Linked DNA regions of Homo sapiens: all the other regions are linked to region 1. The links are contacts of gene promoters, found by promoter capture Hi-C in blood cells and fetal thymus (Javierre and others, 2016). All regions are on one chromosome and are shown on one strand. Each heading gives the region's core, a stretch centred on a gene start or on the middle of the fragment in contact. The rest is flanking DNA. Distances are from core to core; before and after follow the strand shown. Region 1 holds the start of PSD2 (pleckstrin and Sec7 domain containing 2). Region 2 overlaps NRG2 (neuregulin 2). Region 3 overlaps NRG2 (neuregulin 2).

Region 1 (3,552 bases), core at 760-3,259:
TCTGGCCAAGTGCAAATCCTCACTCTGCCACTTACTAACCAGGAGACTTTGAACAAACAGCTCTACCACAAAATGGGAATAAGGGTAGTGCCTCCCTCTAAAGACTGTTATGAGGGTACTTAGCACATATGCTCCATATGTGGAAGCTAGGTGAGGTAATACCCCCCAGCCACACTCTCTCTCTCAGTCCTGTCTAGAGCAGGAAGTCATTCCTTCCAGCTATCTTTGCTCTCTCCCTTCAGGGAAGACCCTGGGAGGCACTATTTGTCAGGTCTGCTTGTGGAGCGTGCACCCCATAGTTGTCAGACCAGGACAAGCTGCAGCGGGGAGGCCTCTGGGGGCATCCCTGGGCTGCAGGGTGCAATTCACCCAAGCATTGAGACTTCAACCTTGCAAGAGGCACCAGTGAGGGAGGCCTTCCAAGGACAACCCAGTCATCCTCCTTTAGCTGGGCCACACCCACCTACTCACCCCACTGCGTGGGAATCTTTTGGGGGCTCTGGCCAAACCCTAGGGACCTGCTATGTTTCCACCAGGACCAAACTTTGCAGTAGCCCCACTCAAAAGCCCCTGTTCCCTGCTTCCCGCATATATTGGGGAAAGGGGCTGCTGGGAGGACAGCAGGCACATTTTACTGATTCGGAGATCCCAGGCCCCAGAACTTGTAGCTTCCCTGGGAGACAGGTTCCTAAAGTCCTGGGGAGAGGGTGGAAGAATGAAAGAACGACTGCAACTGCCCTGGGCCACGGGTTGGGTTTGGAGGCAGTCCCAGCCCAGTGAACCCCCCCACCCCCAACCACTATTAAGCAGCTCTTGTTTGTAGGATCTAGAAAAAGGAACTGGGGAACCCAGGAAAGTCCAAACCCAGGCTGCCCACCTGCCCTGGCCAAATCCTGAGCCCTCTCGCTGATCCCCATCAAATTCAGCCTGGCTTATCCCCAGGCTGCCAGGAGTCTTAGGCCCTCTTCCATTGTGACTGCTGCTTCTGCTCCCTGTTCTCTTCCTGGCCCCCCCAAGATGGCCCCAAGACAAAGGGGTGGGCTTGAGACAGTGGCCCCCTGGGCCTATGCAAAAACAATGCCCCCAGTGATCATTCCGGGGAGTCCCTGCATCCTCTAGGAACAGCTGAATACCTCCTCCTCCGAGGGGGCCCGCTGGGCAGGGTTGTCCCCAGTCTGGACTCCCTCTGCACCCAGCCCCAGCAGCCCGCTCCTGGGACCCCTCCCTCCCGCTGCCGCCTCGGCCATTATGTGCCTCCTCAGCCCTGACTGCCACGCCCCCGTGCGAGCCCCCGCTCTAGCTGCAGAGCCGGGGAGGCCTGGCCGCCAAGCAGGGCTGTCAAAGTTGGGAAACTGGAAACAGAAATAAATCCTCAAAGCTGCAGCCTCGTGAAGGTGGCTGCCGGCAGGCCCCGGTACCCAATGCCCCGATCCCCGACCACCAGGCTGCCACTGGCACCCCCCACGCACACGCGTACCCCCAGATTATACAAAAGCGGGGAGAGGGTAGTGGGTGGCGGAGCCGGGAGACAATCGGCCCGGCAGCCCCCACCGTCCCTCAGGCTGGGCTCGGGCTTTCCCGCGGCGCCCCCTCTCCCCGGCCCAGACCCGGCCAGCCCGGGCTTCCTCTCTCGGCCCCATCTCCATGACAACCGTATCCTTCGGATGCTCCAGACGCCGCGGAATTGATCTGGAAATGTAGCTTTGTTAGCGGACCCGGGTGGGCACCGAGGGCGAGGGCGACGCCCCCCACCCGCACGCGGCCCTCTCCCCGGCCCGTCCCGCCCCGGCCTGGCCGCCAGCGGGGAGGGGCGGGTCCCGGAGCCCCGCGGCCCCACTCACCGCTGCTGGTCCCCGCCGCGGGTCCGGCCTCTCACGGCGGGGCCATCGGAGGCCGCCGGGCTGCCTGTCCCGCCCCGCCGCCGCCGGTCGGAGCTGCCCGCGCCCGCCCGCGTCCCTTCAGGTGCCGGAGCCGCGATGTGGAGAGGCTGAGCGAGGGGGACGGACGGCAGGAGGGAGGGAGCGGAGCCGTGAGCTGGAGGAGGAGGAGGAGGGAGGAGCGGGAAGGGCGGGGAAGGGCGGGGGCACTGCGGGCGCGCGAGCGGCGGGCGCGGAGCCCGGAGGGAAGCGCGGCCCCCAGCCCTGTCCGCTTGCAGCGCAGCGCTCGCCCCGGGACCCCGAGCGTGCCGGGGAGAGCGCGGCCCACCTTGTCCCCCTCTGCCCCGCGCGGGCCCTTTAAGAAAGGGGGGGAGGGGAGCGCCCGGGGTTCTGCCCCCTCCTAGCCACGCTGGGCCCCTGCCGTCCTCGAACCCTCGGGCAGACCCAACCACCTCCGCCCTCCAGGCAGGACCCACCGGTCTAGAACCTGAGCTCTCGGGACCCGCCAGGCCCTGGAGGTGAAGGAGGGGGCGGGTCCTGGCCCTCCTCCCGCGGTCTGTTCAGGGAGTGACCCCTGCCCCCAGCCCCCCGACACACACGCCAGCCCCCGGGAGACGCCGCCAAGGGAGGAGCAGGGAGTGCGGGGGGCCAAGGTGAAGAATCTCAGAGAGGGAGACTGAGCCCCTGAGACCTAGAGTCACACGGGACGGGACGGAGACCTGGGCTGTGGGGTGAGAAGGAGCCTCGGGACAGAGTGGGATGGGAGGAGGCAGGAGAGAGGAGAAAGAGACAAAGGAGAAAGAACCTGAGGGAGGCGGGAGGTGAGGGGTGGGTCCAACCAAGAATCCACATCCCTGTGCCAGGTCAAGGGGAAGCCTCCCTGGGCAGATATAAGGAGACAGAGAGAGACAGAGGGTGCCCTGGGCAGAGGAAACCATCTCCCAAGGCACCTGTCCCACGGTGTCTCCCCAAGGGCAAGTCAAGGCCCTGAAGCCGCCCCCCTCAGCCCAGGACTCTAACTGAAGAAGAGGGTTGACTGGCTGTACCTGGGCTAGACATTAAGAACTTCCTGGCTGTGAGGCACCTGCAGAGTAAGAGTCCGCCTCTCAGAGAGGCATTAAAGGGCCCCCACCCACAGGGATCTAAGGAGGGCGTGGGGAGCAGGCCCAGTGCCTGGGAGAAGGGAAATCAGGATAGAGTCAGGCCCTGCCACTGGAGGCCACTTTCTACCCCTCTCCCCTACTCCAGCCCCTGGGGGGTTCACCACACCCAGTTGCTTCCATCTCCAGACCTCAGCAGATGATCCACACTCTGCCCGGTGGGGCCTTGATCCTGCTGTGCTCAGTGAACTCCTACTGAACCCTCAAATTCCTCCTTAAATGCCCCTTCCTTCATGAAGTCTTCTCTGACCTTCTTTCCACCCATGAACACACAAACATGGACTCTTCTTAGGGAGCAGGAAGAGGATTTGCTGACCTCTTAGGGTGGCAGTAATTGGAGGTGTGGAATCTGAGCTGTGCGTAGTCTCCCTCCCTTCAAGCTGGGCAACAGCAGGAGCTGGGACTTCATCAACCATGGTGACACCTCTGACAACCAAGCATCTACCAAGTGCTCTTCATGTGTCATATTTAATTCTCAAAACAATCCTACAACCCGTTTTACAGATGAGAAAACT
Region 2 (3,552 bases), core at 574-3,073, 120 kb before region 1:
TGTGCTGTCATCTTTAGTTTTTTTTAGCTAAAAAAGCTAAAAGCTACTATCATCTTTAGCCACACATTCACCCCATCACCTTATGTTACCATTTCCTTTATCCCTGTACTTCTCATCCATCCTTTTATCTCAATTCTTGATATGACCACCAGAGTTTAAACTCTGTCATCCATTGCCTAGACTAGTTCTATCCGAGCCTAGTTATATCCTCTAACTCAGTGGTTCCCAGACTGCAATCCATCCACATAAGAATTACTAGGAGGAATTTATTTTTTAAAAAATGCAATTGTAGTCTCTTTCACAATTGTGCTGGGACAATGGAATATCCACGCGCAAAAGAATACCTCATACCGTATACAAAAATTAACCCAACATGGGTCAAAGACTTAACAGTAAGAACTTAAAACACAAAACTCTTAGAAGAAAAAATAGGCATAAATCTTTGTGACATTCAATTAGGTAATAGTTTCTAAGATATGACACCATAAGCATGAGCAACAACAGCAAAATAGTTAAAGTAGAGTTAATCAAAATTTTAAAAAATGTTGCATTTCAAAGGATACCATCAAGAAAGTGAAAAGACGACCCACAGATTGGGAGAAAAATTTTGCAAAAATTTTATCAGATAAGAGAGTTGTATCCATAATATATAAAGAGCTCTTACAATTCAATTATAAAAAGATAAATGACCCAACTAAAAATGAACATATTCAATTTATTTGTCAATTATACCTCAATAAAACTGGGGAAAAAATGAGTCAAGGATCTGAATAAACATTTCCCCAAAGAAGACATACAAATGGCCAATATGTACAAAAAAAGATGCTCAACATCATTAGTTATCAGGGAAATACAGATCAAAACAATAATAAGGCTGGGGACAGTGGCTTACACCTGTAATCCCAGCACTTTGGGAGGCTGAGGTGGGCAGATTACTAGAGCCCAGGAGTTCTAGACCAGCCTGAGCAATGTGGCAAAACCCTGTCTCTACAAAAAATACAAAAATTAGCCAGGCACAGCGGTGCATGCCTGTAGTCCCAGCTACTCAAGAGGCTGAGGTGGAAGGATCGTTTGAGCCCGGGAGGTCAAGGCTGCAGTGAACCGTGATCACACCACTGTGCTCCAGCCTGGGTGACAGAGTGAGACCTTGTCTCAAAAAAACAAAAAAAATGAAACAAAATGACAATAAAGTAATGTACTTTCCAAAAACCATTGAATTGTACACTTTAAATGGGTGAATTGTATGGTATGTGAATTATACCTCAATAAAGCTGCTTTTAAAAAAATCACAAGATACCATTTCACATCCATTGGGATAGCTAGAATCAAAAAGTCAGATAATAACAGGTGTTGATGAGAATGTGGAGAGACTGGAACCCTCATACACTGCTGGTGGGAATGCAAAATGGTGCAGCTGCTTTGGAAAACGATCTGGCAGTTCCTCAAATGATTAAACGTAGAGTTACAATATGACTGAGCAATCTTACTTCCAAGTGGGATTTCAGATAATATATATACCCAAGATAAATGAAAGCACATGTCCACACAAAAGCTTATACACAAATGTTCATAGAAGTATTATTTGTAATAGCCGAAAAGTAGAAACAATCCAAATGTCCATCAACTGATGAACATATAAATAATATCTGGTATATATACATATAATGGAATACTATTCGGCCACAAAAAAGGTATGAATACTGATCCATGCTACAACATGGATGAACCTGGAAAACATTATACCTAGTGAAAGAAGGCAGTCAAGAAAGGCCACAGATTGTATGATTCCATTTATATGAAGTTTCCAGAACAGGCAAATCTGTGGTGACAGAAAGTCAATCAGTGGTTGCCAGGGGATGAAGGGGATGGCAGGGGGAGGGGGTGCTAAAGAGTACGAGGTTTCTTTTGGGGATGATGAAAATGTTCCAAAACTTATTGCAGTGATGGCTGCACAGTTCTGTGAATAGACCACAAAAGTGAATTATATACTTTAAATGGGTCATTTGCATGGCATGTGAATTATATCCCAATTAACCTTAAAAATGCAGTTATAAGGGGAAAATTGATGGTGGGGATATTTTACAGAAAGCTTTAAATGCCAAGTTGAGCAGTGAGGACTGGATTCTCTGGGACCAGTTTTCTCGAAGTGTGCTTCATATACCGTCTGCCTCACAATAGTTACAAATACCAAGTCCTGGCTGCACCCCAGAGACTGTAATTCAGAATGTTTTTCGTGGGATCGGTACTTGCATTTGTAGCAAGCACCCCACAGAGGCTGCAGGCTACACCCCATTGTTAAACATTTTGCTGATCAATCTTGCTGCCTCCAGACTCTGCTCCATTCTGCCCTGCATGACGCTGCTGGATGAGCCTCCAAGAGTATAGTTTGGGTTGGGTCACCTTCCTGCTCAGAACCCTTCAATATCCTTTCATTCCCTTAGCATGAGCTCCAGGTGCTCTGGGCAGCCTGGTTCCCACCCAGTCTTTTTAGCCTTATCTCCATGACTTCCTACATGTCAGTCAAAATGTAATATTCATCATTCTCTGAACCTGTTTTGTGGATTCCCACTCAGTGTCATTGCCAGGCTGTCCCATATTCCAGGAAAGCATCTCCTGTACTCTCAGCTCATCTTTTGCGATACAAATGTCACCATGATCCTTCCTTTCATTTTAACTAGCTGATCGTCTAGAATTTACCACACAGCCTTTCATAATCTTTTAAGCTATACAGTTCTGCTACTTGTAAATTGAATGACAATATTCAGAGTTGTCTGAATATACAGACAATATACGGAGAAAACACCTGTAGATCAGGCAGTGCAGCCTGACACCTGGTCAGAGTGCAGTACTGGGAATAAAATCCTGGTAGCAATCTCCTCTGAGGAATTCAGCATCCTTCCTGGTAATCCAGAGATCAGGGGCCTGCATCAGGCACCAGTGGAATGTAAGCAGGACCTGGGGGACCCTGGCCACCACCCAACCTGTCAAGTCTTGGCAGCTTAGCTGGCGCCACTTCCTTACAGAGGCTGGAAACTGCTGAATTGAATCCTCATTTCAACTGGTGACCCCAAGCAGAAATGCTCTCCCAATCCCATTGTCCTCTGTACTGTGTCCACGAAATCACCCCATCTCAGTAGGAAAAGAGAAGGCTGGAAAGCCATTTACAGCCTATTTGGTAATAAGCTCTTAAAAATAAAATTATGATTGTCAGATAATGATTTTACAGCACAACAAGAGCCCCCTTGCAACCATTTCCGTAATTACATTAAGCCGGTTTGTCTGAAAGAAGCTTAATGGGAAACAAACCATTAATTATAATTTGGTCTTTTCTCCCACAGCCCCTTCCCCCTTGAATTACTGGAGCCACACCCTGGGGCCATGTATGGGAGTGCAGGGATCGCAACCTTGAGGATGGGAAAGATGAGGTGACAAAGGCCAAGGCTCACTGGGAGGGAAGAATAGAGAGCAATGGAAGGTACAAGGTTGTGGTGGCCCCTGTAACCAGCTGGGGGGCCTACAATGGCCCCCACCTAAGTGGAGCCAGTGGTGCTG
Region 3 (3,552 bases), core at 437-2,936, 70 kb before region 1:
TCCTGGGTCTTCATCCTCCACTCCCAAAGGCACTTATGTTTGAAAATCACTTCTCCCTCTCTAGTCCCCATCACAAGTGGACATCAGTTTCCAAGAGCTAAGGAAGAAGAGCTTGAGCTGGTTGGGAAGCCTTAGCCACTACCTCCATTTACCTGAGCTGGGATGAATAGGGACGAGGGCCAGGGATCAGAGAAGGATGTGTTGACAAGGGGGCTGATGGCAGTCTCCTCCTCCAAACCACCCTGTTCAGTAAGACGACCATGTACCCTCTTCCCACCCATGCCACTTCCCTGATACACTTCCCAGCCCTCCACCACCCCCCAATTAGCCAGGCATACCCACACACACACTCCTACCACTACAGGACAAACCTCCTGCCTCCCCTGGGGGAGATGCCATCAAGGCCCAGAGAAACTCTAGCCCTCTGCTCAACTACCACTCCCATTCCCCACTCCTCCAGATTTGAGGTCACAGGGTGTTCATGAGTATCTGTCACAACCAATGGCTGCCACTTACTGTAAGCCTAAGTGGCTTCCTGACAGTTGCTATATACTGCAATGCTAAGAAATAGAGTACACTTGCCTCTTGAGGAAGTTTACATTGATTAATTTTGAACAGTAGCCTATTATTGAGGGGGACACTGGTGATGAACTTAGCTAATTTCCTAAGGAAGAAGATGCAGAGGCAATATAGACCCATCTCTGAGTAGGGAGATGTGGGGAAGGGGTCTAGCCCTCCCTGTAAGCTTCTCCTTAGGTATCCAGCCTTGCCGGGGTTCAGAAGAGAGTACAGGGCTGGGCATGTCCTCCAGAAATTTGCAAGACTTCTGCAAGAAATCTGAGATTCGCTTGAGGAGAGGGCTGGCAGCCAGAGAGCAGAAGAACGTGTACCCTGTGGGTAGAGACAAGGTCAGGGAGATTGAGTGGGGGGTGCTTTAGAGCTGTAAGCAAGGCAAGATCAGAGAATGAGATCCAGGGCAGGTCCAGGCAGTGATGGAGAAACAGGTCATGGGGAAATGGAAGAGTTTCGCAGGCTGGCTGCCACTAGGACCTTGATGTGGACCAGGCTTCCAGGGTCCCCCAGCGAGCCTGCTCCAATCCCTTTTGTGGTCCTTGCTACCTGAGGCCAGATTCCCTGCACCTGGTATCAGGAAGGCCCACTTTGGGATGCTGATAATTCCAGCTCCTCTCCAACTTCCCATTTCCCTACTAAGCTTTTCCCATGTACATCACACTGGGGCAGCCTATTCCAAACCATGTTCTACCACAAGGGTTCCTCAAAAAACAACATCCATGGTGAAGTAAATTTGAAACACAAATAAATTTGAGAACTTACATGGAAAGTTCAGCTATTTCCTCCTATGAAACTTTCATAGTCTTTCATAGGTGAAGGTACACTGCAACTCTACAAGGCACCCTGAGAATGTATTTCCTACATTGATTTGGCCACAGAACCCTCTTTGAAAGAACAGATAAAACATCTCTTAGGTCACTTTTGTCAAAGACATACACAGTCTGGGAACAGCATTCCCGAGTTATCTGAGTTTCCTGGGGGCTGTTTCTTGGATGAGAAAACCTGCCCAGGGCCCAGGAGAGAATCCTTCAGTCGGTCCTGGGAGGAGTAGCTCCCAAGAACTTGGTATTCCTTAAGGCTCCCAGATCCCTGCCAGCTGACTGACTGCCTGGCACCAAGAGGCCACAGTGCTTGCTTCATGGGGCACCAGGCAGGTAAGAAGGAAAGTCTCAATGACCAGTAGGACAATTTCCCATCTTCCCTCACCCCACTTACCTAAATCATCCTCCCCCTGACCCACCCCACCTTCCCCACCACCCATGGAGCCACATCTATGAGACAGATTTTTAAGGAGATTTCAGAGCCCTCCACCCAGCCCTGACTCCAGTCCCTTCAGCTACAAGTATGACCCCAAGTGCCTGACTTGGTTTTTCTCATTCATCACTGTGCACTTTGATTTCTAACCTTAGCCTCGCGGATGATGCCAGTTTGTTCTGTGATTTTTCCCCTTTTCCTTCTCCAGATGTCCAAATGGATTCTTCGGACAGAGATGTTTGGAGAAACTGCCTTTGCGATTGTACATGCCAGATCCTAAGCAAAGTATGTTTGAAGATACAAACACAAGTCCCTGCTCCTTAGAAAGCTTCTGGGTGCAGTCCCCCCAATGTAGGGCATAGGGCCAGGGGTGTTGGTTGTTTTGATCTTTGGCTGTTTTGTTTTGTTTCTCTTTTCTTTTTTGTATTTTGGTTTGTTAGTTCTTTTTGTTTTGTTTTGTTTTGCTTTGTTTTCATTTTTGGCCTAATCCTTGGGTTTAAAGTTCAGGGCTGCAGGTAAGGGGCAGAGTGGCAAGGCCAATACAAATGGTAACGGTGGCAAGGAACCCAGCTGGCATTGGCAGGAGCCCGTGCCGGGGTGTTGCAATGCCTGTGTCTTGCTATCCTGGCTCTCTCTTTCTGGTTTTCTTTCTTTTGGTAGGTGTCCTGTGGGATACACCGGGGACAGGTGTCAGCAGTTCGCAATGGTCAACTTCTCCAGTATGTCTCTTTCTTCTATTTCTTCTCTTCCCTGGTGACTGACAGTCTCCCCCTGGGGAGGGATGGGGCCTTGCTTAGCAAGACTAGGGGGAGATGTAGAGGGTGTCCTGCGCTCCTTAGAGGAGACGGAAACACCCCCGGCACCCCCACCTCCACATGTGGGCTGTACCTCCTGGGCACAGTAATGCCAAGTTCTCTCTGCAGCAGCCAGGGCCACACCCAGGCCTCCTCCCAACTTCTGGGGTCGGGCAGCCTGGCCAGAATGGGAGGAAGCATTTGCAGAGCCCTCCCCTGCTCCGAAGGCTGCCTGAGGGTACCAAAGGGTCTGGCAGTGAGTGTGTGTGTGTGTGTGTGTGTGCCGACGTGTTTGAGAGAGAAAAAAAGTTCTCAGAAAGCCCATTTTCCAGTCTGGCCAGAGTTTGTTTGTTTTGAGGGTTTGGAAATGGGGTAGAGGGAAGGAAGGGGAATTAAGGGAGAGCAGGACCCAGGGCAATGATTTCCATGAATACCAGAGATATTTATGTGGCTACAGGATGGTGGGAGAGGGGGCGGGGGTTGGTGCTGGAGATGCTAAAAAGTTGAGGAAATGAGGAATTGAGGGGTAACTGGTGACTCTCTCAGCACCTCTGTGGTCTGAATCCTCCCATCTAGGATTTTATTCCCTTCCTTTCTTCAACTTATGAGGTTGGAGCTTTCCCTTTTGCACAGTTTGCAAAAAAAAAAAAAAAAGAAGAAGAAGAAGGAGAAGAAAGAAAGAAAAGTGAGCCCCGAGGCCCAAGGACCCAGCCATAATTATGGAGTGCTTTTATTTGGGGCCTGAGAGCAGTTCCTTCCAGCACCACCAGGTGGAGGTGGAGCAGAACAAAAAGCCTCTGGCCGGCCATTGATTCTGCTTGAGGACCAGGGGTCCGCTGGCTTGCAAGGCCTGTCCCCAGTTACCCATCCCATCCTGCAGAGCAGGCTAGGCCCCTGCGTGCCCCCCGACCTCCTCTTCTCCAGGGAGGAC

Evidence for each region. Contacts are between HindIII fragments. The CHiCAGO score rates a contact against its expected background, and 5 or more counts as called.
Region 2: a contact is called between a fragment that was not itself captured here and the fragment with the promoter of PSD2 in region 1, in 1 of 17 cell types (M2 macrophages). The highest score is 6.0, in M2 macrophages.
Region 3: a fragment that was not itself captured here is called in contact with the fragment with the promoter of PSD2 in region 1 in 9 of 17 cell types (M1 macrophages, naive CD8 T cells, M0 macrophages and 6 more); the score reaches 6.7 in M1 macrophages.

What each region holds. Positions count from the first base shown.
Region 1 is chr5:139,794,265-139,797,816 of GRCh38, reverse strand. It overlaps PSD2 (pleckstrin and Sec7 domain containing 2), which reads right to left and starts at 2,009. Exons shown (of 15, transcript NM_032289.4): 1 at 1,842-2,009. RefSeq lists a silencer at 2,291-2,490. The HindIII fragment of the contact is 8,840 bases long and covers 1-3,552 here.
Region 2 is chr5:139,914,872-139,918,423 of GRCh38, reverse strand. All of the region lies in intron 1 of NRG2 (neuregulin 2), which reads left to right. Among named protein-coding and RNA genes, the nearest start is that of PSD2, 120 kb to the right of the region's middle. The HindIII fragment of the contact is 537 bases long and covers 1,555-2,091 here.
Region 3 is chr5:139,864,109-139,867,660 of GRCh38, reverse strand. It overlaps NRG2 (neuregulin 2), which reads left to right. Exons shown (of 10, transcript NM_004883.3): 5 at 2,036-2,112. Among named protein-coding and RNA genes, the nearest start is that of PSD2, 70 kb to the right of the region's middle. The HindIII fragment of the contact is 942 bases long and covers 1,216-2,157 here.